Regions from separate parts of the Homo sapiens genome. Here region 2 is linked to region 1. The links are contacts of gene promoters, found by promoter capture Hi-C in blood cells and fetal thymus (Javierre and others, 2016). All regions are on one chromosome and are shown on one strand. The core of a region is centred on a gene start or on the middle of the fragment in contact, and the rest is flanking DNA. Distances in the headings are between cores, read along the strand shown.

The links. The method cuts DNA at HindIII sites, captures the fragments that hold promoters and counts their contacts. A CHiCAGO score of 5 or more calls a contact.
Region 2: a contact is called between a fragment that was not itself captured here and the fragment with the promoter of RHBDL3 in region 1, in 1 of 17 cell types (M1 macrophages). The highest score is 5.4, in M1 macrophages.

What each region holds. Positions count from the first base shown.
Region 1 is chr17:32,264,493-32,267,208 of GRCh38, forward strand. RHBDL3 (rhomboid like 3) reads left to right here and starts at 1,340. Exons shown (of 9, transcript NM_138328.3): 1 at 1,340-1,808. The coding sequence starts at 1,698. It overlaps LOC105371731 (a long non-coding RNA gene), which reads right to left and starts at 959. Exons shown (of 3, transcript XR_934665.2): 1 at 773-959; 2 at 254-404. The HindIII fragment of the contact is 5,065 bases long and covers 1-2,716 here.
Region 2 is chr17:32,371,110-32,374,118 of GRCh38, forward strand. It overlaps ZNF207 (zinc finger protein 207), which reads left to right. Exons shown (of 12, transcript NM_001098507.2): 12 at 1-3,009. Among named protein-coding and RNA genes, the nearest start is that of ZNF207, 22 kb to the left of the region's middle. The HindIII fragment of the contact is 256 bases long and covers 1,325-1,580 here.

The sequences.
Region 1 (2,716 bases), core at 90-2,589:
GACCCCAGGGCCCCAGCGGTCATTTGTCCTTCTGGGCTCCTCTTCACAAAGGAATCAGCCTCTCTTCTGTCCCCTGAAGGCTGTTTTCAAAATCACACCCCATGCAGACAGTTTTATTTACAAGGAAATCTTGGCAGGATCTTGACTTGTTAGTAGAGTAGGGATGGGGAGGAGGGTGGTGAGAAACAAAAATAGTTGAAATGATCACACTTTCTGAAACAGAGATGAAAATTGGTGTCTGTAGCAAACTCACCTAATTAGAATCAAGTGAATTCCCTTCTCGGTGTTTAAGGGGAGCAGTCATTGCTGGGTGATGGTCGCAGTTCGGATCCTGGGCACGGGGTTATGTCTTTGCTTTCTGAAGATGACTGCATTAGTTGCAGCTCTCACTAATGGAAAGGAGCCTGTTCCGTTTCCCAGAGGAAGGAAGAGGGCAAAGACTAGTGAGTGAGTGGGTGGTGGGAAGAGGAAAGCAAGAGGAGTGGAAGGGCACAGCCTTGGTGTGGGCTGGGGACTGACTGCGAGATGCCTCCTGGAGAAGCTCCTGAGCCTCTGGGGAGAGCTGGCCCCTGCCAGGCCGGCCACTAGCACCATTTACAGCCAGAGCCTCTGCTTCGGGAGATGGTCTCTCTTGGGGGCGCTTTCCTGCAGGGAAACAGCATCGATTGTTTTCTTTAAAAGATCCCCTACTCCGTTTTGGCTAACTTCCTTTCTGATTGCTTTAGTTTCTTTACCGTCCCTCTCCCCAGATGGGGCATTTCCCTGGGCTTACCTTTGTCCATGTGGTCAAATGAAGCCTGGGCATGGTCACTTAGCTCTGGGTGTAGGAAGGGCAAGATTTAGGCTTTGGGGCCCACGACCCCGCAATCTGACTTCTCCCATTTCTGGGCCTCCCGAGACCTCCCAGAATCTGAGACCGCAGTGAATAGGGCGTAAGGATAATGGGGCGGGAGGCAGGAATCCCGTCCTTACAACATCGCGCCCCCAATTCACTCCTAGTTAACCCTGACGTCGCCAACATAGTGTCTCCATCACATATCTGCCACCTCCAAGTGATGGTTAAGCCGATGGAAGAGCCAAGCCCGGGCCCGGAGTGCAGGCCGGTGGTGACCGGGCCGGGGACGGCGCAGTCCCCATCCCCGCCCCGGGCAGCGCCACCACTTCCTCGCCAGCCCCGCCGCAGCCCTCCCGCTCCCGGGCCGCGCCGCTCTGACCGACTGGGCCCGGGTGGCGGCGCCCGGGGTGGGGTGCGGGGCGGGGGCCGGCGTTCCCCGCGAGCAGCCCCGCCCCCGCCCGCGCGCCGCCCCCGAGGACTCCGCGGGGAGGAGGAGACTCGGGCGCAGAGCGGGGGCCGCGAGAAGCGGGAAGGGAGCGCGGGGAGCGGCGGGGCCGGGGCCGGCCCAAGGGCGCCCTCGCCTCGGAGCCGGGCGCGAGGGCCGGGGCGGAGGCGGAGGCCGGCGGGGCAGCTAGCGCAGTGAAGTTTGGCGGCGGAGGGGCCGGGCGTCCCGGGGTCGCGAGGAGGCGGCGGCGGCGCGGGGACCGGGGCCATGGGGGCGGGCGCGGGCTGCGGAGCGGGCGCGGAGGCGGCGCGGCGCGCACTGAGCCCCTGGAGCGGCGCGGCCGCCGCGGCGCAAAGTTAGCCCGGCGCCCCGGGACGAGCCCCGCAGCCGCCGCCGCCCCCGGACCCCGTCTCGGCCATGGGCGAGCACCCCAGCCCGGGCCCCGCGGTGGCCGCCTGCGCCGAGGCGGAGCGCATCGAGGAGCTGGAACCCGAGGCCGAGGAGCGGCTGCCCGCGGCGCCGGAGGACGTGAGTGCCCCCTCCCCGCCCGGCAAACTTTCTAGGGGGCGCCGGGGGGAAAAGCCGCCCCTGTCTCGCCCCACGCCGGGCAACTTGGAGGTTTCAGGGTGACGCGGGAGCGCCCCGGATTGGCCGGGTCCCCGCGGGCAGGAGGGGGCGGAGGGACCGGTCTCCCCGAAACGCGCGCGCACCGCTTCCCCCGCTCTGGTTCCCGCGGCTTCCCTGCGGGACACAGCACCGCCACTGCGCCGCGGACCTGTCACCGCCGGAGCCCCCTCCCCGCCGCTGGTGCAGTGCCCGGGACACGGCGTTTTCCCGCAGAGGCGGCCGCGTCACGGCGGTGACTCCCCCTCCCCTCACGCCCGCGACCTGCGAGCTCCCGGAGCTGGGGAAGGAGCGGACGCCGCAGAGTCCCCGTCCCTGGCCATGCAAGCCGGCCTGGCGACCCCTTCCTCCGCTCCCGGATTAGCTCCCGCCCGGCACCTGCCTTGCCGCGACACTGATTGAAATTCAAGCCGGCCCCCGCCTCTGACCCCGGCCGGAGCAGGGAGGCAAAGAGTGCTGGGAGCGGCTTTGCTCCTAGAAGGAGGCCCGGGAGTCCAAGACCGTGGCGGTGCCAGGGGACGGTCCCCTGGGCGAGGAGAGGGAGGGGCTGCCCCGAGGGCTTCCCCGCCGTCTGCTGCTCGGGTCTCCATCCCTCCGGTCCTGCGGGCCGGCCCTGCGAAGCCCTGGGAACTGGAGTTTCTTGGGTTAACCTCCCGGGGCTAACCTACACATAGGGGTGAAAAACCGGGCAGACACCCTGCCCTGCCCACTCCTCCCTCAGGGTGGGGAGATGGAAGTGAAACCAGGCCCCCAACCCACACAACGAAAGCGGGAAAGTCTGAATGGGGTTGGGGGGTAGTTTACGATCTTCT
Region 2 (3,009 bases), core at 203-2,702, 110 kb after region 1:
TGACCTTTTTGGGATCTGTTTTTCTGATCTTTTGCAGGGTAGTTTTATGATTTTTTAGGCATCAAATAACCTATGCAAAGTATTAATATAATGAACTCAAGTTGAGTTTTTCTCATTATAAAGTTAAGACTTCTAAGAAAATGGTAACATTTCTTTATAACTTTCCTGTGAAGGTATAGATAAAACACATGAAGTCTGAAGTTGTATGGAAAAAAGGGCTTTAACTTTGAAGGAAAATATATTGAAAAGTGATTTAGCCATCACAAAAGAGTTCGTATTTATGTGACAGATGAAAGTCATACCTTTAAGCAAAACATTGCAAGTATTATAAAGCTGAATGCTATTTTAACTCACATTGGCTGGGTGCAGTGGCTCACGCCTGTAATCCCAGCCCTCTGGAAGGCTGAGATGGGAGGATTGCTTGAGTCCAGGAGTTTGAGACCAGCCTGGCCAACATGGCAAAACCCCATCTGTACAAAACATTTAAAAATTAGCCAGGCGCGTTAGTGTGTGTCTGTGGTCCCAGCTGCTCAAGAGGCTGAGGAAGGAGGTTCTTCCTCCTTCCGAGGCTGCGGTGAGCTATGTTCACTCCAGCCTGGGCAACAGAGCGAGACTCTGTCAAAAAATAAATTAAAATATCTGATTATCTGGCTTCAATGATTTTGGCTCCTGTGCTTGTGGTACCATAGTGGTACAAAAATTTTCATAGTTTGAAAATAAAACAGGTATTTTGCCAGTAATGTATTTCTTTCTGCCAGCAGCCAAGTCCCAAACCACTTTCCCCTCTGAACCTCTGCTTACCTAAATGGTTTCAAAATTAATACATGCTGCTTTGATTTGGCAGCACACTTAATATACTGCTGAAGGAAAACTTGTGTTGAAAGTCTTTAAGATAAAAATGGTGTGATAGGCCGGGCGCAGTGGCTCACGCCTGTAATCCCAGCACTTTGGGAGGCCCAGGCGGGTGGATCATGAGGTCAGGAGATGGAGACCATCCTGGCTAACACGGTGAAACCCCGTTTCTACTAAAAATACAAAAAATTAGCTGGGCGTAGTTGCGGATGCCTGTAGTCCCAACTACTCTGGAGACCGAGGCAGGAGAATGGCGTGAACCCGGGAGGCATAGCTTGCAGTGAGCGGAGATCACACCACTGCACTCTAGCCTGGACGACAGATTGAGACTCCGTCTCAAAAAAAAAAAATGCTGTGATTAAATTTAGAATAATTAAGTAAGGGGTGCTCTCCCAAATTCTCAGGAATTTCATGTATACGGTTATTGACAAACTGCAATAGGGTTAGTAGACCTGTTTCAGAAATTATGTGAAGCTTTATTTGCATTTTATGCAAAGAAGGTTGATACTTTGTAGCAAGGTTTTTTGCTCTCTGTATAGGTCTGATGGGCAAAAATGGAACTTTTAAATATGGGATAGAATTCTAATTAAAAATTAATTGAAAGTGTTAGGCATTGGCAGATAAAACTTAAGCTCATGAGTTCCTGAGTTTGTAGCTATAGGCTCAGAGGTGGTGTACCCATTTAATATATTTGAAGTGTAATTTTTGCATGCATCCAAACGTAATTAAGCTTCTAGAAAATACCTTTTTTCTAAATGCTTCTGGGGTCCATAGTGTGGTTGAATTATGAGTGGAGCAAATTATATTCATATAATTAACTCTGACTCAACCTTCCTTAAGTAGTAGATGAAGTTGAGTCAAAGTGGATGCCAACTGCCCTCACAGAAGACAACTTTTGGGACTTGATAATTCAGGCAGGCATTGTGATTGTCATAATTAAGGAAGCTGTAAGGTTAGTAGGGCTGGCAACTTTGGCTCTACCTTACATCCACCCCTTTTAGAAAAACAAGAAAACATTTTGTCTGGCACTAGTTTCTGTTGTATAAGTTTTCATACTGTTTAACAAGACCACAGCAGGTAAGGATTAATTTTTGAGTGGCTGCTGGAATTACTTGATTTGAATACTTAGTATTTTAGTAGTGTCTCACACATTTGCCATTAGGTATGAATAAAATATTCCTACTGTACTCCTATTCCACTAAGTTACATTTTGAACTTAGACTCACCTTAATTAAACTTAATTAATTGGGGAGGGGGATTCCCCAACAAAAAGAAGTACGGGCTCAGAGTGGAATTGTAGTGGACAATAGTTAAAAACAAAGCTGCTCCTTTTGCTTGCTTGATCATTGGGATTTTTAAAAAAAAAAATTTTAATGCATGTCTTTTAAATTAATTGGGAACTGTTTTTCTAAAATTAAAATTTTCTTCTTCCTATAGCCCTGCCATAGGACAGGCTGAGGCTGAGTCTCAGTGTTGCCCTGTTCAGTCTGAGGCAAGTGGGATTTATTTTATTCCTTATAGGGGCTTTCACAGCTTTATGGCTGTTGGATATTTATGTCCCCAAACTTGCAGCAAGTTTGGTGAAGGCCCCTAAATTTAATTAAACTTAGGATTTTTATACTCTTTTGGCAGAGAAGGCTCTATATTAATATTCACGTTTGACTGTGGTGTTAATAAACATAAGTATTTCATATGCAATTTTATGTAATTTGCTGTGTGTTACATAATTAACAGCTTCAGTAAAGCTTGTGTTCCTATATTGAACTTCAATAAATTGACAAAATTTGATATTTTTGATTGGAGGCAAGAAATGTTTCATTCAAGTTTTTTACTTTCACTTCTAGGAAAATCTTACTGGTTTTATTTTCTCCATAAACTATTAAATTTAACCTCAAGGATAAGTTTAATCATTGGAAATGCCACTGGATACTGAAATGTGCCTTCTCTTTTTTGAGACGGAGTTTCACTCTTATCACCCAGGATGGAGTGCAGTGGTGCGATCTCGGTTCACTGCAACCTCTGCCTCCCGGATTCAAGTGATTCTCCTGCCTCAGCCTCCCGAGTAGCTGGGATTATAGGCTCCCGCCACCACATCTGGCTATTTTTTCAATATTTTTCAGTAGGGATGGGGTTTTGCCGTGTTGGCCAGGCTGGTCT